Regions from separate parts of the Homo sapiens genome. Here regions 1, 2 and 4 are each linked to region 3. Evidence: promoter capture Hi-C in 16 types of primary human blood cells and fetal thymus (Javierre and others, 2016). All regions are on one chromosome and are shown on one strand. The core of a region is centred on a gene start or on the middle of the fragment in contact, and the rest is flanking DNA. Distances in the headings are between cores, read along the strand shown.

What was found. Contacts are between HindIII fragments. The CHiCAGO score rates a contact against its expected background, and 5 or more counts as called.
Region 1: a contact is called between a fragment that was not itself captured here and the fragment with the promoter of BOLL in region 3, in 13 of 17 cell types (M1 macrophages, M0 macrophages, M2 macrophages and 10 more). The highest score is 20.0, in M1 macrophages.
Region 2: a contact is called between a fragment that was not itself captured here and the fragment with the promoter of BOLL in region 3, in 3 of 17 cell types (M1 macrophages, M0 macrophages and non-activated CD4 T cells). The highest score is 7.8, in M1 macrophages.
Region 4: a contact is called between a fragment that was not itself captured here and the fragment with the promoter of BOLL in region 3, in 1 of 17 cell types (erythroblasts). The highest score is 7.7, in erythroblasts.

What each region holds. Positions count from the first base shown.
Region 1 is chr2:198,293,703-198,300,413 of GRCh38, reverse strand. It overlaps LINC01923 (long intergenic non-protein coding RNA 1923), which reads left to right. Exons shown (of 3, transcript NR_110267.1): 3 at 1-1,051. Among named protein-coding and RNA genes, the nearest start is that of LINC01923, 78 kb to the left of the region's middle. The HindIII fragment of the contact is 1,138 bases long and covers 1,997-3,134 here.
Region 2 is chr2:198,313,383-198,320,389 of GRCh38, reverse strand. The region is part of intron 2 of LINC01923 (long intergenic non-protein coding RNA 1923); the gene reads left to right. Among named protein-coding and RNA genes, the nearest start is that of LINC01923, 58 kb to the left of the region's middle. The HindIII fragment of the contact is 3,962 bases long and covers 2,682-6,643 here.
Region 3 is chr2:197,780,632-197,787,301 of GRCh38, reverse strand. It overlaps BOLL (boule RNA binding protein), which reads left to right and starts at 1,983. Exons shown (of 11, transcript NM_033030.6): 1 at 1,983-2,246; 2 at 5,437-5,580. The coding sequence starts at 5,452. RefSeq lists an enhancer at 578-807. The HindIII fragment of the contact is 5,410 bases long and covers 1-3,986 here.
Region 4 is chr2:197,188,234-197,195,378 of GRCh38, reverse strand. All of the region lies in intron 1 of ANKRD44 (ankyrin repeat domain 44), which reads left to right. Among named protein-coding and RNA genes, the nearest start is that of ANKRD44-AS1, 6.2 kb to the left of the region's middle. The HindIII fragment of the contact is 2,421 bases long and covers 1,209-3,629 here.

The DNA of each region.
Region 1 (6,711 bases), core at 1,316-3,815, 510 kb before region 3:
TCATTCATTCCCCCAGGGAAACAGCACCTGTAGAAGACAAATCTGGTAGACACTACTGTGACAGGTGATTTTATATGTCAGCTTGACTAGGCCACAGGATGTGTAGACATTTGTCAAATTTTTTTTTATATGTCTGTGAGGATGTTTCTGGATGAGATTAACATTGAATCAGTAGACTGAGTAAAGAAGACCGCCCTCCCCAGTGGGGGTGTCCCTCATCCAACCTGTGGAAGCCCTACATAGAACAAAAAGGCTGAACCTCCCCCAAAATACGGTGATCTCAAGCTGCCTGACTTCTGGTGCTGGAACATTGTTCTTTTTCTGCCTTCCGACTCAAACTGAAAATCAGCTCATCTTGTATCCTGAGTCTGCTGGCTTCCAGACTGAACTATACATTGACTCTCCCAGGTTTCCAGCTTGCAACTGCTGGTCTTGGGACTTCTCAGCCTCCATAATCATGCATTAGCCAATTTCTATATAGATCTAGAAATTCATATATATATATGTGTGTGTGTGTGTGTATGTGTGTGTGTGTGTGTACGCATATATATACAGTCATGAATCACTGAGCAGTGGGCATACCTTCTGAGAAATGTGTCATTAGGCACTGTTATCATTGTGTGAACATCATAGTGTACTTACACACACCTAGACGGTATAGCCTACAACACACCTAGGCTATATAGTATAACTTGTTGCTGGTAGATTACAAACCTGTACAACCTGTTACTGTACTGAATACTGTAGGCAATTGTAAAACAATGGTAAGTATTTGTGTATCTAAACATAGCTAACCATAGAAAAGGTACAGTAAAAATACTGTATAAGAGATAAAACATGGTGTGCCTGTATAGGTTGCTTACCATAAATAAAGCTTGCAGGTTGGAAGTTACTCTGGGTGAGTCAGTGAGTAAATGATGAGTGAATGTGAGGCCCTTGGACATCACTGTACCCTACTGTAGACTTTATAAACACTGTACACTTAGGTTACCCTAAATCTATTTTAAAATTGTTTTCTTTCTTCAATAATAAATTACCCTTAGCTTACTGTAACATTTTTACTTGACAAACCTTTTAATTTTTAAAATTTTCTGACTGTTATAATAATACTTAGCCTGAAATACAAATGAATTGTCTAAGTGTACAAAAATATTTTCTCTCTTTATTTTTATTTTATGAGCTCATTTCTATTTTTAATTCTTTTAACTTTTCAAAATTTTTTATCAAAAACTAAGACTCAAACACACATTAGCCTAGGCCTACAGAGGGTCAGGATCATCAACATCACTGTCTTTCCCCTCCATATCTTCTCCCACTGGAAGGTCTTCAGGGGCAATAACATGCAAGAACTGTCATCTGTGATAACAATGCCTTCTTTTGGAATACCCCCTGAAGGACACACCTGATGCTGTTTTACAGTTAATTTTTTTATATTAGTAGAAGGAGTACACTACAAAATAATGATCGAAAGTATAGTAAATACATAAGCCGGTAACATAGTCATTTATTTTCATTATCAAGGACTATTTACTATACACGATTGTATGTGCTAGATTTTTATATGACTGTCAGCATAGTAGGTTTGTTTGCACCAGAATCACCACAGACACAAGAGTAATGCATTGAGTTATGATGCTACAATGGCAGTAACAAGTCGGCTGATAGGAATTTCTCAGCTCCATAATAATTGTGCAAGACTGCCATCATATATTCACTCTACTGTTGACCAAAACCTCATTATACAGCATATGACTGTCTATATATAAACAAAGAACCATATTTTTGAGGAATTTTAATTTTTTATTTAAGAGTAAAGTGTAATAAGGGTAAAGTGTCTGTGATTTGTTTAAATTCTTCAGAAAAAAAGGAAGAAAAACAGGATAGAAAAAACAATACAGCAGAATCTTGCTAAATGAGTGATGCCAATGTCGGCAAGTTGGGTGATGGATACATTGGGGTTCACTGCAAACTTTATATTTGTGTATGTTTGAAAGCTTTTATAATAAAAATTAAATACAGTATATATTAAATATGTATGCCACTTAGCACTTAATCAAAATTTTTTATCTCGCCTTGTTAGATTTTATTATTTTATCTTGAACAAGTAGCATCAACATAGCCTGGGCAATATAGTCAGACCTCGTCTCTACAAAAAATTTTAAAAATCAGCTGAGCAGGCTGGGCGCGATGGCTCACGCCTGTAATCCCAGAACTTTTGGGGCCGAGGCGGGCTAATCACCTGAGGTCAGGAGTTCGAGACCAGCCTGGCCAACGTGGAGAAACCCCGTCTCTACTAAAAATACAAAAAAATAGCCGGGCATGGTGGCGCATGCCTGTAATTCCAGCTACTTGGGAGGCTGAGGCAGGAGAATCGCTTGAATCTGTGAGGCGGAGGTTGTGGTGAGCCGAGATCGGGCCATTGCGCTCCAGCCTGGGCAACAAGAGCAAAACTCCATCTCAAAAAAAAAAAAAAAAAAACAGCTAAGCATAGTGGTGGACCACACGTAGTTCCACCTACTCAGAAGGCTGGGGTGGGAGGATTGCTTGAACCTGGGAAGTGAAAGTTGCAGTGAGCCAAGATCACGCCACTGAACTCTAGCCTGGGTGACAGACAAGACCCTGTCCCCCCCCACCAAAAAAAAACTCAATATAAGAAGTATTGCTGGTGAACATATAGTGCCCTGCACCTAGAAAAATGAAGCTACTTTCAAGAGATTAGTAGGAGAAGGGATCATTGATGATCCCTTGAAGCCAGGGTCTTAATGAAATTTGGAATGGGAAGCAGCTCAGTTATTAAAAAAAAAAAAAAAAAGATACCCTTGCTGGCACAAGGACGAAGGGTAAGTTATCACTTCCCTTTTTCTAGTGTTAAGTAAATTACATTTAACAAAGATGACTCTTGTCAATTTTGTATCACTTTGACTCTTACGTACTTATGCAGTAAGTTTCTTAGCAGCACTGCTTGCTATAACTTAAACTAGAGAGTTAATAGCAGAAATGCAGCTGTATCTGAAATATGCTACAACTACTCCTCTCAGGAAGGATTTGGAGGAGTAACTTTTAAATGCTTGGCTCAACATCTTAAAGACAAGTTTCTGTTAAGGTGAGAAGACAACAGTATAGAATGAAAAGCTTACACAGCTGGATTCTAAGGCTGACTCCCCAATTAACTAATTATGTGACTTTAAACCAATCACTTACTTTCTCCAACTCTCTCCAGGGTTCTTTGTTTTTAATGAAATGGGCTGGTGGGTGAATTGGACTCTTTCAAGGAGCTCTCCCAGGACAAAGACATGGTCATGCATATTCACCAGACCATATCCAGCATCTAGCACAGCTCCTCAAACATAAGAGGATTCCAATTCGTATTTTAAGAGAACAAAAAAAACCAGAATATCAAATAATTGGTTACATCCAAAAACCTGTCAATCCGGAAAATTTCTCACATTCGTCTACCTCCTTGACCTGGATCTTTTCAGGTTTATCACGTTTTCCCCCAAGAGAGCCTCCAGAAGTGAAGACGGCGTATAATGCAATATGACCACTAGATGGCAGCACGAACCCACCTCAGAATTATCCCTAAAGCGGCCACAGACCCTAGACCAGCTGTTTCAACTGAGCCTGCACAACTGAGCAGACTGTGAATAGTTAAGACTGCCTTGGCTGGTGTCTTTCCCTATACCCTTCCTTTTGTTTTAATTATAAGAAATCTATATGAGTTTCACTATTGATAGGAACATAAATGATCTGTTGTTTCAGCCCTAGGATATTGATATTGCCTTTATATAAATTGTTGATATTTTGTTCATCATGGATTTCCTTTCATTAATTTTGATTAATGCAAATTTTAAGTTACTTTCACCTTAGTCCTGAAAAAACAAGACTGCTTCCAGGGACCATCAAAATAATCTTACAGAGAGACTAGGTAGTATGCATCTGTGGGAGATGCATCTGTGCACACTGGAGACCTCCAGTATATACAGCAGGAGCTCAGTAACAATGTTTTTCAGTGAACCAGGACAAGGATATTCAGTGTATGGGTACTTAAAAAAATGAATGCATGCTCAAAAGGTGAGACCTTCCTTTCCTACTACATGTTTTTTTTCTTTCTTTCTTTTTTTTTTTTTTTTCACTAATTCATGGTCTTCTTCATCACCTCTCTCCTCCTCCTTCCAGAGCTCCATCTGCTTCCCTGGGTACTACATTGTGAGACACTTTGCTCCCTTCCTTTTTATTTATTTATTTTTATTCATTGATTGATTGACTGATTGAGACACGGTCTTGCTCTGTTGCCAGGCTGGAGTGCAGTGGTGTGATCACAGCTCACTGCACCCTTGACCTCCTGGGCTCAAGGGATCCTCCTGCCTCAGCCCCGAGTAGCTGGGACTAAAGGCACCCACCACCACACCCAGCTAATTTTTGTTTTTTTGGTTTATTTGTAGAGATGGGGTCTTGCCATGTTAGCCAGGCTGGTCTCAAACTCCTGGGCTACAGTGATTCCCCACCTAAGCCCCCCAAAGTGTTGGGATTACGGGCACGAGCCACTGCACCCGGCCACCCTGCCCCTTTTAAAAATCTCCTTTCTATTCTCTCTCTGCTGGCCCACCTTACCCAGAGAAGTTTTCTTTAGTTCCATCTCCTGTTCTATTTCATTTTTTCTTAGATCCCAGAGGAATTAAGAAGATGGGGTGGCTGGGAAGGGAAATGGGGAGAATCTCAGAGAATGGAAGGATCAGAGAGCTGGAAGCCAAATCTAGACTCTAAGCTCCTGGGGCACAGAACATCCCCACCAGACTTAGCACAGTGCCTTGCACAAAACAGGTGTACAATAAATATCCATTTGTATGGATGATTACTTGTGTTAATTAGCAATGTGCTCATACAAATAATGAAAAGTCATACAGTAATTTTAAACAATGTCCTATATACAACTATTTCAAGGACTCATGCAAGTGACAACATCCATTAACACTGTAGCTAATTACCTTTGTGCCTCTCCTCTCCTCCCAGTAGCTTCAAGTGCTCAACTCTTAAAAATCCTGAAAGTCAAAGGGCAAGCAGATTCCAGGCTCCCCTTGAACTTTCCCTGAGGCCCAGACAACATTAAGGCCATGGGCACTGCCAAACTCTTTTTTACTGGCATTGGTAAAGCATTGACTGTGGGTGAGGTCCAGGACCCAGGGCTGTATTTTTCACAGATGCATCCTGTGCTTGGTATCTTTACTTTGCACCCCCAGATTCACTCCGCTGACATCTCTGCCTGCTTTCTGGCCTGGAGAGCCCCATCATGAGAACCCTCAAGCCCTCTGGATTCTGGCTGGGTGTAGCCAATAGGAAGTTTTGGTATCACAGGGAGGTTATGACCCTTTGCTCCCTTGCTGCAAGGTTACCTGCAGATGACACTGCCTCTAGAAAGAAGATCACCCCTGCTCAAAGGCAGCAGTCTACAGCCCTGCCTCCTCCCTCCATTCCTAGCAAGGAAAGTTGGTACTACTAGCACTGCTGGTACTATCGCTGTGGTCCTCCGACACAGGCACATGGGTCCTGACCAATCTTTACTGAGCTCTCCACTTGTAGAACACACTGTGTACTCAGAACTCAGGTTTCCCATTCAGATAGACCCAAGCCAGCTTCCAGGGTCTGTTCAAGTCCAATCCTCAGTTCCGTCTCAGGGTGGGTGGGAACTGTGACCCCAGACCCAAGGGCCAGTGGGGCAGTTATTTGTGGAACTGTGAGTGGAGTTTGGACACATGGCCTAGGGTGTCTGGCCATGAGCTTGTAAAGGTGTTTGCAGAACTGAGGGCAACATGTCTATCCCTCACCTCCATGTTCTGGTGGTATGGTCTGTAACTTAGAGAATGTGATAATTCTATGTGCAGACCTGGCCTTCAAAGTCATTACATAAGTGCCCCATTTGTTGAGGTAGAGAACAGAACAGATTTTATTCAACAATGTGGTTGCTTGAGTTATAACTTTGAAATATTCTGACTCGGAGCACATGGGCCTCCATCTGTACTCTTGCCCTGGGCTCTGCAGCTGTCAGGGGAGCACCAACTACTGGCTCCAGCGACTGCACGAGTCTTTGTCGCTCCCCCACACTCGCACAGTGTGAACAGCCCCTGCTGTGCAAACTCTCTCGGAATCATCTCAGTTTGAGGGTACCCTCTGTTTTCTATTGGTGCCGTTGATTGATAGATATCACCAAATCCTAACGGTACCTGGCATACAGGTTCTCTATTTTAAAGAAAGTATTATTGACTGGAATAAATGGAAAAGGGGGAGAGAAGGAAACCTTCATATAAAACTAACTCAAACTAAACACCGAGGGGCAATCAAATTACCTGCAGCAATGGGGCTAGATCCATGTAGTGCTCTTAGGGACATGTGTTCCTGTAAGATACAGGCCTTCCAAGGTCATGGAGGAGAGATGTCCAGCCCCTTGGGTGGGATGCCTGGAAAAGCCACACTGGGCCAATGCACTGGAAGGGGCATGGGCCACAGGGGGCTACATTTTGTTCTTTTCCAAAGATTATTAAAATTCAGTATTGAACTGTTTATGTAATAACATGCCAAAGATGCCATGACACTTCCAGTGAAGCTGCTACTTTTCAAGTGGGATGACCTTGACTGGATCCTTCTGATTAAGTTGTCCTGGTCCCTGGACCTTTCCAGAAACTTCCATGGCTATTTCCCTGGTTTCCAATGTCTATG
Region 2 (7,007 bases), core at 3,413-5,912, 530 kb before region 3:
TTATTTTTTATTTAGATTTTCATGGTCTCTTTTACTCCAAAGAATCATTTTTACATGAGTCTTTGTCCCAGGAAGAAATGTTGTGATTAAATTTCACGGGCAGACTCACTGCTGCCCAGCTGATTAAATCCCAATTCTTTCTCAGTGTTTAGTAGCCTCTTTTTTTAAGCCACAAGTTTGTATTTTTAATTCGTAGCCTCCGAGGAAGCTATTGGGCATTTGAATGCCATCCTTACTTGGGCCTTGCTCACAAGAAATGATAGATTGTAAGAGATATTTTACTAAGTAAATTACAAAATACAACAATCATTTGAAACTCTAGGGGGGGAAATTAAGCTAAATGTCAATGGTATTCTCACATAAAATTTACTGTAATGTGAGTCCTGACTTCCAGGACAACTTGAGTTTTTGCATTTGGAAGGGGGTTTGGGGTCATTCCACTGATATCAAATCTATCAAAATGAGCAGAGATCAAAGCTCTGAATGTCTTGGCATCTCTGATTTTTATTAAAAGTTTCCCTTGGCTTCCTGGCTGGATCTATTATTCTCAACAGATCTCGGTGGTACCAATGATTCAGATTCTATAACCTGGCCCTTTTAATTAACCTGGGTATTGAAACCACCTTTTGACTGTGAAGACATAATGTGTTGGTATCACAAATGATGGAAAGGAAATTATTAATAACTAAGATTTAGAAAGAATATTCTTTTGCCAGTTTTGACTTATTTTATGCAATTTGCTTAATTCCATCTAAGGAATCAGGGGAACTCTCAATAAATACATACAAAAAAGTTTTTTAATGTGATAAAAGTAAGAAAATTGAATAGTGAATAATTGTTCATTAAATCTTTCTTTCTGTCATCAATCAATGACTTGTGCCCTAACCCACAAATAATTCACAAGCTACAAAAGATGGCTTAACAATTTGGCAAAAACATAAAATCTCTGTATCAAATAAACAAAAATCCCATCTCCTCACTTCTATGGTTGAGAATCTATTTTATTAAATAAGGGAGATTATTTTGTTTTTCATTAAAAGTAAACCTGAATGTTTACACTCTTTATTGTGATTTAGCAATTTAAATTAAAAATATGTTTTCTGCTTCGATTTGTCAGTAAATAATGGGTAAATAAGATGAATCTTATTACATTTTCAAAGGCCAATGTTCTGCTCTCTACTTATCTTACTATTTTATTCTACATCTCTTAATAAGCTAAATTTTTCACTTTTAAAATGACTTTTCCTGTTCATCTACTACACAGGCTGCAGATCAAATCTCCATAAATTTACAATTGTAAAGAATCCCTTTTACAAGAGCAAAAAACCAGTCATCTTTAATGCATTGGGCTTTTTACAATTATACAACAAATTTTTTTACTTTACTTTTAGAAAAAAAGAAAATATTAATATCTTAACATTTATGTTATGCCATGCAATAAAAACAACTCATAACTTTTTCTCATATTTCACCAAGTTTTCTATTAGAACTTCTTCCTGGCTATTTAAATATGCTTAAACTAATGGTTTTCTGTAATTTGTCTTTTTTCTTTAGAAACATACCGTGCCATTGTCAGTTTTTAAAAAGAAGCAATTTTCTGACTTTTGAGATTGAGTACGTAGGTCAAGGAAAAATGACTACTGTTGAAAACCTGTAATTAAACAGAAAATGCAGCTGCACTTATGAGAAACTAAAATGAAGTTTATTAATACTTGATTCTGAAATGGATTTTTGAATTTTGGGTTAAGGTTTCATTTAGAGCCATGCCTTATCTATACCCTCTTTGCTGATTACTTTTCATAAGCAATATGTAGGAATATAATAATCCTACTTTTATGAAGAAACATTTCTGATCTATTTCCTTTTCTCCTTAAAATATCAATTTCAGAAGTATTTTAAAACAAACTAGTGAAATATTCTTTGTCAATTTGCTTTTCTTTTGTGATTACTCTAGATAAATACATGTTCTCCCCAAACATTAAAAAAGTATGTTCAATAAATACATTTTAAGCACAAATTTTTATGATCATTTCATAAAGGGTAGCCTTTTAGAATATAAAATAATCAAAGCTTTCTTTTTGTATTGATTTTCATCATCATTAATTTTTCTAAATGTGACATATATCATTTCATTTCATTAAACAATACTCATAAAGGAGGTTTACTAAGAATACAAGCTAATTTTTGAATTTATGAGATTACCAGATCTATTTGCTGAGTATACCTCCTATTTGAACAATTCATCAAATTAGGTTACATTTAAAGAGTTAAAATATTTTGTACAAACACAAAACTAATAAACAAATAAAACCATTTAGAACAATTTAAAAAGTCATAATATTTGTCACTGCTTAATTTTAATGGTGCATTTTAACAAATCAAGATAAACACCCTTTAACCTCCCCTACAAAACTCTTGGATTGAAATCTGAATAACATTTACATAAAATTAGGTATAATGTGAAAGCCTTCTTAAAGCAAATGAGAGTACTATAAAATTATTTATGTATTGAAATAGTAGTAATCTCCATTTAGAAGCTGAAGCTGAATGTCAGAATATACATAAATGTTTGCTGCATCTTTAATTATAAAGCTTATGATTTTTCATAAGTATATGTTAAGTGGCACAGCAATATAAAAAAATAGTAATTATTTAACTGCAAATATCTAAAATCTTAAGCTTTGAAACTTAGTTCTACTTTTGAAAAAATAACTTTTTTCTGAGGAAGAATGTTCTTGTTCTGTTTTTGCTTTTGTTTAGAACCATTTTAAACACATCTTCAACCAACGTGTTGATTTATTTATTCTGACTACATGTACTCTAAAACGATGGGATAGTGGCTGGGAGACAGTGATATAAAACAATATACTTTTCAATTACTACAGACTTATGGAAAGAAAGTACTAGGAAGTGAGAAAAGCACCCAGTTTGAGTGGGAAAGAATTACAATAAAACTAGGGCTTTAATGAACACACTCCTCTTTGACATTCTAGGTCAGTCCTGTTATACCTGCGTGGTTTGGTCATTTCTGTTCATTTGTTAATGTGCTAAGGCCCTTGGAATTCTATTTTCCAGATGCTTATATTCCATAGAGGAAAGGAAAACTGATCCATGAAGTTGTTATTTGCATAAAATGCAGAGGCATCTGTCACTGGCTTCTTCCTGGTTGAGTTCGGCATGCAGGGATTCTGCAGCTGCTCTGCCGCAGCATTAGGTCCCCATGCGGGCAGCGAGAGTCAACGGTGAGGACAGCATCTAGGGGCAGGGTGAGAACTTGCTCAGTTCATAATCAGGGTATTTACAATTATATTTTTGATAGGATGATGACATCACTGGTCCTGTCTCTCTCTTTCTCTCTCTCTCTCTGTGTCTCTGTCTCTCTCTCTCTCTCACACACACACACACACACACACACACAACTAGCTCAGATTCAGCCCAAGAACAATTGTAATTGACCACATTTTTCTGTAAATATGTTTCTTATCAAGGTCATGATAAATTAATCATAATCTTGTTGCATAGCGTTAATGTAGCACAGAGGGTGGAAATCGGAAGGCAAGGTTAGGCTTATTCGCAGGCCTTCATTTTAGGGGAGATTTTTGTTTTGTTTGCCTTTGGTTTTGTCTCCTTTTCTCTTGAGTCTAATTAAAAACCTATCAGTGTGGGTATCTTTGTGCCCACTTCACACACTCACAGAAAAGAAACGTTGCTTCTATTGCTAAAGTAAATTGTAAAATCAGAATGGATCAGGCCCGTCATGGTGGCTCAAATAAACTTTAAAGAGGTATACTGCAGCTTCATTATGTTTCAGCATTTATTCCTGCATGACACTCAAACCAACAATTACAAGTGTCAAGTTTAGTGACCAAAAATGTCTACAAACTCCATGACTGCATTGTTGCACAAACCTAGATATGATTTTCCACAAAGATAAATATAAATCAGTTCAAAGCCAAATCATTTGTAATATTTTCCAAAGCATATTTCAAATAGATCTCAAAGTGCCTGATGTGGTAATACTATTTATAAAATACTTGGTATTAGTCTGCCTTCATTTTTCAGTGCCGATATATTCACTATGACCTGTTTCCTGAGGATAGAGTTACTGCAATCTGTCTGACAAGGACTTTGTGAGTAAAATGGCACAAAGAAGCAGGCATAGTAACCAGTTAACAAATTCAGACTTTGAAATAATAACAGTTCTTTGTAACAAACTGGGATAATTGGGCTAAAAGTTTCTCTGATGCAAGTTCATCAGTAAGCAGTAATCAGATAGGAGGCTTCTTTGAAACTTTTCTGATTCATAAATAATATAGTAGTTTACAAAGAGGAAGTTTGTGGGAAGCAGCAGTAAACAGTCTCGCAATCCATCTGTTATTATGGAATCCAGAAGAGCTGAATCAGGATCCACGTTGTTTATGATATAAAAGATGCTCGGGAAATGTTGCTGAAATAATTATTAACCAAAAATGTCATGTTTTTACTTTTTAGAAGTCTGAGTCATATGTGGTTGTGATGAAATGTACCCACCTGTGTGAATAAATGCAGGAAGTTTACCTGGATTAATAATGTAACAGAACACCAAATGCAATTCTTAAAAAGTTTTTAAATAGGCATTGCAGAATGTGTTCTTATTTTTTTAATTACTGGTTAATTTTTCAAAATTACATTCAAATATATTCTTTTTAAGCATAATGTGATTCTTCAGAATATAGCTTTAGAATTCCATTTGATAAAAAAGTGATTAAATTCAGCGCTGAGTATGAAATTAAAATAGCCAAAGCTAAAATTGTCTTTCTACTCTGTCTCTTGACCTTGACCTCACCCCAGTTTTTCTCCTCACCAACAGTCCTAGCACACACACAAACACACACACACAGAGAAAGAGAGAGAGTTAAAGGAAAGGAAAGATTTAGGGTGAGAGTTGCAGTGTTGCCTCCTTTTCAGGTCCAGGAATTATTCCTCAAGACTAACTTTTTTGATACTTATTTAATTGTTCAAAATTTTGCAAAGAACAAACCAAGAAATGTGTTACTATAAAGAAATTTCAACAGTGAGACCTGCCTTGTTTCATATTTACTCTAAATGAAGTCAAAATGTTTTTCCTTGTACATCTTTTTGTCTGAAGCATGATAATAAATACATAAATCCTATCATAGTAAGATAAGCCACCACAGCTGGAAAACATGGTTGGTAATACACAACCAGAGCAGAAGTTTTAACATCCTAAAACAATAGCAACACAATGATGTCTATGGATTTCCAATAATACTAACTTAGAAACGTAATACAATTAATCCATCACTTACCCTAAATTAGCTAGAAATAGATTTTGCTCATTATGGGGAAAATAAACTAAAAACCTAACCAAAATAGAATGCCCATATGAAGATGCAGCTATATTGACCATAAGTAACAGGTATATGGATCTAAAACATTGATCATGCATCATTTTTCTTGAGTTTCAAATTGGTTTGGGTTTTTTTTTTCTGTATTTTATAGAAAACCTATAGAATAAAAATCCACACATAATCCTCCTTTAAGGGCATTCTATTGGGCTAAACCGTACAGAAACCAGCTTGAATAACAAGAATTCGTTATTCTCTGCCTGCAAACATTGACAACAGTGCCATCTTCTGGCTCTATAAAAGCAACTCCTGCATTCTACTTTTGTCAAACTGCTGAAAGTTCTTTCTACCGAGAATGAATAATCCTCAACCAGGTTTTCGAATACAATGGTCTTTATTAACAAGTGCGAGTTTGCGCCTTTATAACTAGGACCAGGACAACTTAACTCCTGTGTTTCTTTTCCTTTGGCGTATATACCTTTGTAAGTAGTAAACTCTTTATTTCTATGTTAATTCTCTTTCTCACTCATCCATTCTTATCTTCAATTTCTGGTGTTTTACTTAACCTTAGCCCATGCCTACCTACTTGCTTAGTTCTAAGAATTTGTTTCTCTCTGTATAGTTCTAAGTATGTGTCTCTATTCCTCTTGTTCTATTTGATCTCTGCAGCTCTATTGGTGATGTTTATTTGGAATTAATTTCATACTTTAATTCTGTACTCTCTAGTATTTCTTTTTCCTATCTCCTCATGGCTTTCTTTTAAACCTCCTCTGTATTTTTCTAACGTTGTCCAAATTGGTAAAATTTAACAATTAGTAAAATGTAAATGAATAGCTGTAATTGCTTTAAAAATCTCATAGCCATAAAATACTATCTGCTGTTGATGAACATTGGAAGAAAAGCTACATCTTTTCATGTACATTCGGCAACAGATAAATAACCAAAATAGTAATGTCTCTTTCAACCTTTCAATATGTTCAGTACAGTTAAACACCAAATGGAGTAATGGTAACATGCAAGGGGAATTCTGCATTTCCCTAACAAGTTTAAAACTGCTATTCAAAGAGGAATAGCAGTGCTTTGGACAGGATGAGTGATCAACAGATACTGAATGAAAAATAATTAGGTGATCAGCTCCAAACAGGGGCACAGGAAATGACACAGGTGAATGGAATACGAGTTTGTAGAAAGGAGGGCAGAATGTGTGGAAATTTCCTAATCAAATGAGTACACAAAAGACATTGGAGCTTTTTTCCCTTCAAAAAAAAAGTTGCATTTTTTTTAAGCACTAAGCTTGTCAAATTTTAATCAGGGAGATAGATGAGTGACAGATGAGGAGTAGTAAATGATGAGAAATTTTCAGCGAGCAAAAAAACGAGTGAAAATGGAGAACAAAAGCTGAAACAGGGAAGCGAGCTAGATGGTAAGGGGAAACAGAGGAGAGAAGGGGAGTAGCCAGGGCGAGACCACAGAAACCCAGGTGAACCAAAGCTCTTTCTTGAACCTTGTGCAGGAAGAAAAGAAACCAAAATACTGATTGTTGCCCAGGGCTTTGTGAATCAAAGTAATGTGCTATCCAGAGCAAAGTGAGGAAAACACAAAAGAACAGATTTGAGGGTCTGCTGACCTGACTTCAATGGCAAGTGAATTATGAAAATT
Region 3 (6,670 bases), core at 734-3,233:
ACTGCACTCCAGCCTGGGCGACAGAGTGAGCCTTCGTGTCTAAATAATTAGTCAACTGGACGGGCACGGTGGCTCAAGCCTGTAATCCCAACAATTTGAGCGGCCAAGACAGGCAGCTCACTTGAAGTCAGAAGTTCAAGCCTGGCCAACATGGTGAAACCCCGTCTCTACTAAAAATACAAAAATTAGCCGTGGTAGCGGGCGCCTGTAATCCCAGCTACTCGGGAGGCTGAGACAAGGAGAATCGCTTGAATCCGGAAGGCGGAGGTTGCAGTGAGCCGAGATCGCGCCACTGCACTCCAGCCCGGGCGACAGTGCGAGACTCCGTCTCAAAAATAAAAATAATTAGTAAATTAATTCATTAATTTAAGAAAAAAAGCGCAATCTTCTTCCAAAGGCGATCCCAAGGCTGTTGGAGGCTGAAACCGCTAAGTCGCCCCCTACCGCGCGGGTGGCTTCGTCCCGGACCCCTCCAGAGGCTGTGCCACTGCTGGAGGTGCTCAGCGGGGCCGGGACCCGCTTGGGGCGCCGTCCGGGGCGAGCACCGGAGCCCGACTGGGCTGAATGGCAGGTCCTGACCAAGCCACCCGCGCGGCCCCGCCCGCCTGGCGGGATGAGTGACGGCGGCAACAGGTGCAGAGCGGCGTCCGCGGCTTCTCGGGAGCCCCCGAGTTTTGCGAGTCAGGCCCCGAGAGTCAGAGTTTGACTCTAGAACCTTCTTCGCTTTACACCAGTCTTCGGAAGTCGCCCGTCAACCGGCTTCTTCTACCTCAGTAAAGCCTTAAGGTCACCTCAACCTCTCGAAACCCACCAGTCCCAGAGGCCGACTCTTCTCAAGTGGAGGAGAGGGGAAGGCGTGCATGGAGCTTTGCCTGACCGCTCGCTCTCTCCTCCCCAGCCGTCTGAGAGAAGGCGAGAGGGGTCCCAGAACCGAGCCCTCGCTCCGCACGCCCCACGCCCGCCCCGCTGTGCCGTGCGCTCTGCCCCTGAGACGCCCCGGCTCGGAGTCCCAGGGCCACAGCCGAAACTCGCCCTCCCGCGCCCCTCTCCGGCTTGCAGCGCCCGCCCGCACCGCCACCTGCCACCCGAGGCGACGCAGTCCGCTTCTCCCCACCCGCCAGGTGGCAGGTTCAGGGCCGGGGTCCGAGCCTGCTTCCCTGCAGCTGCCACAGCCACCCTCGCCGCCAGGGGGCGAGAGTCCCAGGCAGGACAAGCAGCGCTGCTGCCTTGGCGTGAAGGTGGTTTCAAACTTTAGGCTTCTTTTCCCTACCCCGCGTCTCTGAAGAGCAGAGAGGAAGATGGAAACCGAGTCCGGGCCGGTGAGTACGGCGATCAGGGCCCCAGGGCGCGGGATAGCGGGGAGAAGGAGCAGCGTGGAGCCTGTCCCTGAGGGCTTGGAGGGGCGAGGTGAAGGCCCCAAACGCTCGCTATCTGGTTGGGAAGAAACGTGGCCAGGTGCCCCATCGACCGCTGCCAGGAGCCACCCGCCCGCAGACCTCGTCTGGCTGTGTCATGGGGGTCAGAAAGGCGCCGCCACGGGGCCTGGACTGGGTGTAGACGGGCCAGGGGACCTCAGGCGTGGATGTTTCGGGAGGCGGCGGGCTGCCAGGCACCCAGCGAAGTCCGAGCAGGTAAACCGCTTTCCCGCCGAAATTGGGCTAGGCAGCGTCTTTGACGCTCCCTGCGGCCGAACTCGACCCAGCCGCCCAAGGCGAGGAGTTGCCAGGGCGGTCGACGCCTCCACTCCCCGACTGGTCAGCGAGGACCGGAAGGTCTGAGAGACCTGGCAGGGCCCGCCTGTGGCCCAGGCGGGACCCGGACACTCTAGCCCTGGCTGTGCACCCAAGCCAGTCAGGGTGGACTTGGGGAAGTGAAGGAGGACTGCCCGCACAGGCCCGAGGCGCAGCGGCAACGTGCCATCCCGCCCCGCCCCGTCCCGCCGCCAGCAGCCAATCAGGGAGCGCCGCGCGAGGGTGGGGACCAGCTGCGCACGAGGCCAGCGGCGGGGTCGCTGCCGTTGAGGCTTCCCGCCACTGCTGCTGGCGGATTTGTGGGGCAAAATTTCTCGCTGGCTAGCCTTCTTTTCCCTCCCGCACTTTGGTGGGGAGGGGGTGGATCCTCGTTTCGGTGCCCAAGTTCACGATGACCCGAGAGAACTCGAGGAAGTTGTCGCCGCGGCCATTTCCCCCAGTGCCGCAACTTGCTGGCCTTGGAGGGGGAGGAGCGCCGAGGCAGTGACTGCGACGGTTAGCCCGCCCGTTCCTGCTGTCTTCGTTTGCAAAATAGATGCTAGATCTCGAGGTTGATTCTCAAGGGGAGGGGCCAGTGAGGGCACATTGCTTTGGAGGAGTAGTTTAATAAACTCTCTAGTGCTGGAAGTTTTAGCAAACGGAGGAGCCTTCAAACCCGGCAACAGTCCCCATCTAGGTGTTTCCGTAACACATGCGGAATTATTGCTAGTGGAATTTCAGGCTTTCTTTGTTGTTTAACTCAATGCATCGCTAATTGTTTATAATGAACTTAGATGTTGCCTCCACCTGAGCCTTGCTATTGCTAACATTAAAATATTTTGTAGGCCTGGCGCGATGGCTCCCGCCTGTAATCCCAGCACTTTGGGAGGCCAAGGTGGGCGGATCACGAGGTCAGGAGATCGAGACCATCCTGGCCAAAATGGTGAAAACCCATCTCTACTAATACAAAAAAATTAGCTGGGCGTGGTGGTGCGCACCTGTAGTCTCAGCTACTCAGGAGGCTGAGGCAGGAGAATCTCTTGAACCAGGGAGGCGGAGGTTGCAGTGAGCCGAAATCACGCCACTGCACTCCAGCCTGGCGACAGAGCAAGACTGTCTCAAATATATATATATATATATATATATATATATATATATATATATATATATATATATATATGTATTAGACTGCTGTTATACTGTATTCTTTAGCCTTCAGCCTATTTGGCATATCATGAGCAGGTCTCTCCTGAAGAAATGATTCACTTTTAGTCATTCAACAGATATTTATTGAGCACCTGCTGTGTACTGTCAGTACTTTAGATGCTGCCATGAAAAAAGCAAAACTTCTGCCCTGGTGCATTACATAATAGTGGAGACAGATAATAAACATACTAAGTAAACTATATCGTATGTTAGAAAATGATGAGGGAGAAAACTTAAGCAGAGCGAGCCCACAATAGAGCCTTAGAGAGTGGAGGAGAATGAAGTGAATTGAGTGTGAAAGGTTGTTTTTCTTTTCTCAGGGAGTATCCTTTAGTTTCTCGAGATTGGAAATAAAGCACTGTTTACTTCCGTTCATTTCATCCTTCTCTCAATGAAATATAATGGGGTTTGTCTTTTACTTAAACTTGCGAACATATTAGTACATCTTATTTTCAATAAGAGAATTTCATGAAGAATGATTTTTTAAATTTAGCAAATAGGTAATTTTGACACTGTAAACAAATGGGCAGAAAGACAAGATTACATCTACTAGAGCTGTTATATTATCTCTAGCAATACAAAATCCATAGTTGAAAAATACTAAGCATTCCAGAATTACCCATTCTGAGCATTATATCCTACTGAGCGAAGTGACTGAAGTCACAAATAACCTCCAAGTGCCCAGAGAGAAAGCTGTTAAGATTAGATTCCCAGTTTCTTTCATTGGAAACTACAACATAGTAATTATTAAATGTGGTGGCTTTTCTGTGTTTTAAAAGAAGTATTTACATATTCCCTTATTAGGAGTACATACTTCCTTAAGGCTGGATGGGGAAGAGAGCCCATAAGGTCCAGCCTATAGCCCAATTGCCACTCCTGCCCTAGTCATTTCTCTGTACATCTTGCAAAGATTAATTTAGGGATTGTGATTGTATTGGCCAGAGAAGAAAGAGCAGAACAAATTTGAAAAAGAACAACTTTATTACCTGAGCTGGAGATTCATTTTCATGAGTTTGTTTCTCAGAGAATTGGAATTATGAACTTCAAGCTTTTGTTATTTTCTTTTTCTTTCTTTTTGAGATGGGGTCTTTCTTTGTTGCCCAGGCTGGTCTCGAACTCCTGATCTCAAGCAATCCTCCTGCCTCAGCCTCCCAAGCAGCTGGGATTACAGGCACAAGCCACAACACCCAGTTTACTTCAAGTTTTTTGAAGCACACATTTAGGATATTATGGGGTTTGTCTTTAGGATATTATGGGGTTTGTCTCAGAAGTGTGTTTAGTGTTTCCAGATGGAAAATAATTCACCAGTTCTTGAATTGGTTTCTCTTCAATGTGATTCTCAAGTCTTGGGTTTTTTTTCAGTTATACCTTAAAAGTCTATTATCTTACCATTCTGCAAAGGCTTATACATTTATATATATTTATTAAAATTTAAATTATGTCCTCTAACTTAGAATTGTGAACATGTGGATATGTACTGAGCTAATTCTTTGGAATAAACATTTATGAGCTACAAGTATATAATTTTTTAACAAAATCAGTCCAATCTTCAAATTGACAAGTGCATTTAAAATTTTGACTTTCAGGCTGAAAATGGTGAATGTGAATGTTAGAGTTTATTAACTTGTCGATGACCATTAGTTAAAGACCACCAGGAACACATGCGTCATTTAGTAAAGTTGGGTCTGTTAATTGTTCAAACAAGGGAAAACATAAACCATGGGGCCTCTCAATCAGAAGGTGTTAGAACTTACAGGATATAGGCTTCTGTTGAGCAATTTCTAGAGAGGGTTTAAGGAAGTAGGGCTTTACTCTGGAATGTATAGCGTCAGGAAATGGTAGTAATTCTATGATTGGATGTGTTAACTTTTATCTAAAAGGAAAGAAAAATGGATCGAGGCTAAAACTATAGCTGATAAAGAAGGAGCAGTCACTCATATCAGCCAGAATGGAGGGTTGTTTGGTTATTCTTGTGGTTTGGGCAATGCCTTTGTTTTTGTCAGCATTCAAACATGATTATGGAGTGGTCTTGTTTTTAATCTTGATCCATCAGAGTCACAGGGTGACTTTGTCTGATGTTGGTGTTCTGTTAACAAGAGAACACCACAGCCTAGCTGTGAGTGCCAGGCCAACTCCTAACAACACCAGGGTGTAGTTGATTGTGTCAGGCTGGGACTGTTTTCTCTTTCTCAAACATGTTCATGAGTTTAATATTCCCCTTAATAATTAAGTAATAGGTTTGATAATAATATAAGCATTTTAAGTAATATATTTAATATTTAAAATCTCTATAGTGGAGTAGATTCTGTGTTTCCTAGTTCTGTTGCCTTAAAAAGCTCTTAGCTCTAATTATAATTTTTATAATATTAAAAGTAAAGCCTAGAATACTATATTTTGCCTAAATGACTCTTCTTTTTGAAAAATATATGTTTTTGGTCTGCATCAAAAGCAGACTGCATTATACCCAGTGCAAAAAGTGTAAAAGAATTTTATTTTACAGCAAACATCAAACCAGATGCAAACAGATTCATTATCTCCATCCCCTAATCCTGTGTCACCTGTGCCTTTGAATAACCCAACAAGTGCCCCAAGATATGGAACAGTGATCCCTAATCGCATCTTTGTAGGAGGAATTGATTTTAAGGTACCTATTTATGCATGCAGTAAAGTGTATTTTTTCATTAGAAGTCTTTATTTCTCAGAAATTATTTCTTTGTGCAACTATAAAATAACATATTTGCATAATGATTAACAGATTTTGAATTATCTTATTATAAAGAATCTTTTCAACCAGCATGTAGGTTACATAAAGCATTAAAAACTGTTCAATGTCAGATATAAAGAAATTGATCCTCACTGACTTGCTGTGGGCTGCTAGCCACATAGTGACAGAGTGAGACTAGAAGCCTAGTTTTCTGTCTCATAGCTCCATACTCTTCCATACCAGAACTAATTATACTTTCTTGCCTAATATTCCAATAGCCAAAATAATTGATTATTATAATTTTCAAAAGAGACTCTATTTTTTAAAAACTTACTTTTATGAAATACTATTTCTTTACCCCAACTCTTATCTCAGATTCCTGAGCAACCTCCTAGGCATCTATTCTTTGCAAAGCACTTTCTATGTTAGAATTTAGGATTTGATCACCAAAAAAGTCCTGTGTCCTTGTCAGAATAAAGCATCTTAAAAGTAGTATATTTAAGCAGAAAAAAAAATAACTATTCGGTACTAGGCTTAGTACCTGGGTGCCAAAATAATCTATACAACAAACCCCAATGATGAGTTTATAACAAATCTGCACGTGTACCCCGAACTTAAAATAAAAGTTTTTTAAAAACTAATATATTTATATCATGTAATCAGCCATTCCACTGTTTCAAGAAAGCATAGTTCATGACATGATGTGCAGTGCCCCCCAGCCCACATAGGGGAGGTAAGAGTAAACACCTACAAGAAAGGCATGCATAGATATTTTAAGTGGAATACTCTTACTTTCAAATGGATATATAGAAGGATTTCCAAGCTTCTATTTTACATATTAGAAATTATAGGGAGAGTTATCATTTTCAACAAAAAAAAAACCTTCCTTATGCCATTAGGTGTGATATTTGACATTTATAACTATTTCCATATAACCAATCTGTTACAATTTGGGTGGAATTTCTTTTTTCCTGCACAAGAGAAATGTTACACTTAGTGTATTTGCCAAAACAATGAGTCTTAAACAAGT
Region 4 (7,145 bases), core at 1,170-3,669, 590 kb after region 3:
ACTCAGTGTACACTTTGGCCAGATTAAATTCTTGGGAAAACTCTATTCCTTTCTCCTGCTCATGACCCCCATTCCTGTTTGTCCATAAGATTAGGTAAAGGCTGGGTACAGTGCTCATGACTGTAATCCCAGCTCTTTGGGAGGCTGAGGCAGAAGAATTGCTTGAGGCCAGGGGTTCAAGAGCAGCCTGGGCAACATAGCGAGACCCTGTCTCCACAAAAAAATATTAAAAATTCACCAGGTTTAACAGTGGCCTGTGCCCATAGTCTGAATTACTTGGGAGGCTGAGGTGGGAGCATCGCTTGAGCCCAAGAGTTTGAGGTGGTAATGAGCTATATGATTGCACCAAAAAGATTAGGTTAAAGCTTCTTATGCTGATGTGATGCTCCCCCCACCCAGTTATTCATTTTTCTAACTTCATCTTCTATTATTTTCCAACATGAAAGATTTACTCTCCAGTCCCCAGTCTCATCCTTCAAAATTCTGCTTAGTGCCTACCTTCTTCATCTTTATAACTCAGACCCATGCGGAGCCCCCTCAACTTTGAAAGACTGTAGCCCTTTGTTTTCTGTCTTTTGGTAAGATTATTTTATTGTTAGCCATTTTGTTGCAAGGAATTATATCTATATCTATCTATCTATCTATGTATATGCATTTGGCCACTATTTGTGTAAATATATATGCATACGTATAGAGAGAATGTATCTCATATATGGCAGCTTTTTCCTTAGTGTATAATATTTCTCCATAGGAGGTATGTTGAAACTGAAGCTGAATTCTGATCATGAATTATATATATATTATATTACATGTGAGAGAAAGTACCAAGCTGCGAGAATCAGGAAAACTAAGTTCTAGTCTCAACTTTGTCACTAACAGGCAAATCATTAGACTTCGTCACAGCTCCAAACAGGGAATTCATTTCCTTTGTGTCTATCAGGAGATCACAAAAGAAAGGTGTAACTACATGTATTTATGACAACCTTAAGTAGTAAAATTACAATCTCAGGTCCCATTAAGCTGGCATGAATATATGCAGTTACCTTTTGATTAGTCAAGAAGAAATGATGTATTAGTTCAGTGAGTTATTGGCTTTATAGATTAGACTTCTGAGTACAGAGGGACTGTGTGACAATTTCGAGGTTGCTGAGTGTAACAAAGGCCAAGTCATGCTCAGTTTGATTTTTGCTCCCAGGCCTGTAAAAGCTTCTCTCCCAATATGATGGGCCCCTCTGCTTTAGAGGTGGTGTTGAGTGGGTTATAATCCTAACTCAATTTATTTACTCTGTAGTATTTTAGGAAATCTTTCAAGATCTCTTATTTTTCCTTTTTTAGGATGCACATAAAGGTACTTGTCTATGAAGGTTTTTGAGCTTGTTAAGGTAAACAATCATCCCTGTTTTTATTGCGTGCACACCAGGCATCTGGCCCCGTGCTGGGGGTGTTGCATATGTTGTGTTATTTTTTATTATTTATTTATGTATTTATTTATTTTTTGAGATGGAGTCCCTCTCTGTTGCCCAGGCTGGAGTGCAGTGGCGCGATCTCGGCTCACTGCAAGCTCTGCCTCCCGGGTTCACGCCATTCTCCTGCCTCAGCCTCCTGAGCAGCTGGGACTACGGGCGACCGCCACCAGGCCCGGCTAAGTTTTTTTTGTATTTTTAGTAGAGACGGGGTTTCACCGTGTTAGCCAGGATGGTCTCGATCTCCTGACCTCGTGATCCACCCTCCTCGGCCTCCCAAAGTGCTGGGATTACAGGTGTGAGCCACCGCGCCTGGCCGTTACGTTATTTTTTAAACACATCTATAAAATGGCTATTGTAACCCCATCTTAGAGATGAGAAAACTGAAACGGAAATGGATTGGATTTAATAATTGGTCAGTCTGATACCATAGCATTAATCTTTCTACTATGGAAAAAAAGGAGGTCAATAAAAATTAACATTTTAATCAATAAAAATTAACATTGCCTCCAGATTTCAATTTAACTGATACTGTTATTCCATCACTTCCTTTGGCCCAACTTTTTGTCTGTAACTGGTAACAAAGTTGAATTTTGTTTTACTTTGGGTTGGCCATCGGGTGAGGGTGATAACTAGTGGTATTAAAGAGCAGAGAAACACCCAAAGAGAATCTCAGGAAAGGAAGGAGCAACAAAGGATTAAATGTTCCAAAAATTGGGTAATTGGGGTAGTTGGTCCTTGAGTAACTATTTCATAGTCAGTACCCATGTGTTATTTTCATTGGGAAAAGATTAGGTAATAAATTAATTTTCTCCATTTTCTAATTAGATGTAATTCTTTTTTCATAATGTTAAATATAGAGTTAACAAATATGCTACTTGGAGGGCATGACTATAACATGGAATTTTATGTTTTTTCTGTTTTTAATAGTAATGGAAAATATTATATATATTTACTCTGCAGCATAGCCTGTAGGAGACATTTTCAGACATGCAGTCCTGCCTCACTCCCTGATTTTTTAAAAAATGTATTTATAAGGACTCAGTATATTTTTGTATTGTCCTTATGGTACTTAAGAGGAACAGATTTTGATTTTATGATAATCATTATCTTTCTGGGATGGAGTGAACTTCTCAAGTAAAGGGTGATCTATATTCAGGAAGAACTCAATGAAATCCTTGCAGGAGATCATACAGCAGAACTCACATGAATTCAGTTAGCAGGTTTTGTTCATTAAATCTAGTGACTTGAACAAATTTTTATTATCCTTTCACAAAAGTGCAAGCACTGGCTCCTACAAAAAACAGTTGTTACCTAACGAAGTGTTTCAGCTTGTTCATATAAGTTGATGGCTTCATATGGCTAGATTATTGCTGTATCAGCTATCAGCTACTGATAACACACTCCCATCTTACTTTAATGACATATGTACTCAGAATGCTCAAGGAGGGACAGATGTTTAGGAATATCAAATTTTCCTTCTTGGCTATTGATTGATTCCCAACACCCATTTCTGATTGGAATGCAAAATGTTTTTCTTTTAGACTTGGAGTCTTTATTTTCCCGATCTAATCAGAAAAACACAAGCAACACACCAGGATCTAGAATGAAATGCTGGAGCATCCCTGGATGCTGCTTGGGCTTATTACCATTGACTGTAGTTACCAATGCTCAATGACAGCCTCTGTCACTCTGCCTATCTTCCAAAGCCAATTCATTAGTACAGAGCATGCAACTCTGGCAAAGGGAAAGTGAAATATACTATACAGTGGTTTTAGCAAAAATCAAAATGGTGGTTTCATTAGGGGATTTTGCGGGATGTGGGAGGGCATTGATGACTTCATAGCCGGATGGAGTGGATACTCTAAACTAGCTTGGCTCTCTTTGTAGAACCCATGATGGGCTTCATTCTTAAATGGAGGGTGTGTCTGATGACATCAGTAGCATATTTTTTTCATGGAATTGACATAATAATTGAATTGGATTTCACAGATGATGAAAATGATACCTTAGCACGTAGGTTTTAGATAGTTTTATTCTTATTTCTAAAACCTGGATCCTCAGGGATCAATAGGAATTTTTTGTGTTTGGTGTTTTTTTGTTTGTTTGTTTTAGTATGTGCATGGTGTGCATGTTTACTTATGACTAAGAACTCTTTCAGAAGCTTGAGTTCTTTTATGTTTTTAATGAAGTGGATTTTTCAATTACCTTACTTCCTTAATTACACATCCTGAACCTTTGCTTTTACCTCCCAGGTAACAAATTACCATCTTGCTCCCCCTAGTGGAATTTTGACTCTACTTCAAAGTTTGAGAATAACTATCCCTAGTACATATTTGATTTAGCATTTTATTTTTGGAAGTCTGGTATTTTCCCAGTTTGTTTTCAGGGTGAGAATAAAAACAGAATATTTTATTGGATGTGCCGATAGGGGATGTGGGTAGAGAAAGTGGCTTTCGGCTGATTAGATTTCAGTTCCAAGGGTTAGCAAGTTCAGCTACAAAATTTATAAGATCAAGGGGTCTTTCTGTTCCCCATTTCTATCTTAGAGGGGTCAAGTGTCATCAGCTTGGCAGACATTCACCTCTAGAAGGCAGCCGTCAACACTCCTGGAAAGGTAGTAGGGGGCTAGTTGTTGGTGATTTTGAAGGCAAGGACAGGTCCCATCTGAACAACAAATCCCACTTGTGCTTTTGGTAAATTTGGCCCAGGAAGTGTCCTTCTGTCTTCTGAATCTACCAGAGGCACTGCACCAATATCTGCAGCACTGACAATCATTTTGCAGCTGCTAAGCATGCTAAGAAAATTCTAGCAATTGAAGCTAAAAAGACTGCATACCTCTCTTAGGAATTTAAATTTCTTTAGGGGATGATGATCAATGATTTCATGGTATCTGAATCTCCTTTTTTCCTACCACTATTTGTTTTTCTCAATTTTGACCCTTGTTACAATTTTGTATTTATTCAACTCTGTACCCTACTGTACACAAAGCACTCGTGTTATATATGCTAGTGCTAAAATGTGTGAAACTTTAAAAAGAAATATCTGTATATGCCAAGGCTTGGGACTCTGCTCTTGTGCAGGTAGGACTTTGCTTCTAAGCCTTATTTAAGTTAAGACAAAAGCTGCAAAAGTTATGATGGTTGCCAAATTAATGAACAACAGAATATATGTCCTTAATACTTATGAGCAAGAATATTGTAATTAGAATATTCTTTGCCTTAAACATCATATAATATAGTATTTAGATATATCTTTTCCCCAATATTTTTTCTTAGGTTAAGTGTTTACCTGGGGAAAAATAAAACAGCAGGATCTCATTAAAATTCCAACAAAAAGGAGTGCCAAAGTGCTCTCTGGGAATGTTTTTGGGAGTGTGGAGAGAAAAAAAGAAGAAGCAGTCATAATATTTAAAAAATAAATATTACTTGCTCAAGAATCATTATGCATTCCATTCAGTAATTATATCCATACAAACACACAGCTTCAGTTGAAGCAAAGCACGTTATCTGTGAAGTTCTAGTTTGAAATCCCATGATGCTTAAATTCATAATTGTGAAGGCGATGTCTCAGTAGCCACATGGCACAGTTGAGCTAGAGATGTCCATATAGCAAGGCTTTGGGATGTGGAGAACAGCTGCTTTTTTATTCCACGGGAAGTAGAAGGGGTTTGTGTATGACTCAACATGTGTCTCTATGCATGCATGCCTGAGTGTAGATAGGTATGCATATGTACCTAGGTGCATATGTATGCATATATGTGACTTCAGTATTGGAAGAGTTATAATGATAGCTCAGCCTCTTCTTCCTAATGGCTCCTGGGGATTCTGTGCCTTGACAATTCTCTATAAAGTAGCTTTTAGCAGCATTAGTCCCAGAGGCACCACTCCCTGCTGAGGACTGTGCTGGCGCCCTTCTCTGGAAGCTTTTTTGGGATGCCTCTCCTTGGTAACATTCCAGCCATAGCTTGGAATGCTTGCCTTTCTTCAGAAGTGTGAGGACGGAGTGAATGCAACAGAATGTATGTATTCCGTACACTCGCAACTGGGAGACTCTGCTCACCTCATTATGTTCCCTTAAAGTGACTAAGTAGTGGTGCATTAACTACTGTGTTGGGTTTGTTCCCCGGAATCTTAACTGTTCAGCTGTTGATTGACTACTCCTGATTTAACATGAAAATCTTGTCAGACACTGCCTCTACTTATCGTTCTCTGGTTGTGGAGGTTTGTTGCTTGTTTTCTTTTAAGGTCCAAAAAGGCAGAAATGCACACATGAGCATTTGGCCATGAGCACAGCAGATGGAGAATTATGGAGCAGATAAACAAGATTCAATATTTTTTTTTGTCGAAACCCTGAATTTGTGTCTGGCTCTGTGTCTTGTGTGAAATGTGGTCCTTGCCACGGGGCAGATGTAACCCGAACGGAGACTTGGTTAGCAGGTAGTTAGGGGGAGTGTGGAAGGATCTGCCTGTCTTTAAGCAGAGTAAGTAGCTAAGACTGAACTAGCAGTAAACTTGTATTCTTTTCAAGACTTCTTTCCTGCTACTTAATTGTTGGCAATTTCAGAAACTATCCATACACCTTGTCAAGAAGCAGAATTGAGAGGGTGTTTTCGAGAAAGAAAAAGAGATATATGTTCATTTGCTGGGAATTTTTATGGCAGAGGAGAAACCCATGGACAAATTCCTGGCATATTGAAATATCCATTCTGCACCTTGACATTTTTACATAGTGTTTCCTCAAGGAATCTTACTCTGTCTTACTGATAGTACTTATATTGGTCCCCCAAACTAGCAATAAACAGCAACATAACCTGTAAGAAAGCCAACAGGAGGATAAAAAGAGAAAAGAGGGTTTATAGGGAAAATGACAACTCACATTCCCAACAGCAGATCACAGGGTGAGGTCAAGGTATGTGACACTAGTGATTTCACCTGAGGCCAGTGCTTGCCACCAGTTCCTAAGAATTGATAGGTACTTGTTAAAATCTAGATTTGCAGGTCCCCACCCTGAATGTATTATATCCTTAGGAAAGGGATCTGGGACTATTTTTTTTAATAGGCATCTCCGGTGATTCTTATGGTCAGACACATTGGGGAAACTGCTGTCATCTAATCGACTACTAGGACTAAGATATTTCTAGAATTTTGGGTGAATGTGTGTGTGTGCATAATTACCAAGGATCTTAAGGTTAAAAGAAAATTATCAACTACTCCATCTTGTCATCGTGAAACATTTCTTAATGAAAACATCTATGTAGGGTTGTCTGGTTAGAGGACATTTTCTCATGTACTACCTCATTTGATCCTAATAACAATCCCATGAGGAGGTTAGGCAGCGATGATCATGCTCACCCCCAAGTTGCATGTAGAAATGGGCTTTGCATGTGGCTAGCAAGTGTGAGACTGGCTTTGAATAGCATTTTTTGCCATGCAGGCAAGCCCAACATCAACCCTAAAGCCTGCCACTGTTCCTCTTTTACCCCACACTCTGGTCAGTAACATATCAGGTTCTTTGCACATCCACACCTTTGCACACCTGTACCTCCTCTGTCTTCCTTCCCTGTCAGCAAATCATATTTATTCATTAAGGTGCCTTCCTTAAGCTTTTTTGGATACACCCTTGTCTTCACCCAGCCTCCTACCCAAGTGGAGCTAGCTGTTCTTTTGGTTGTGTTTCCAT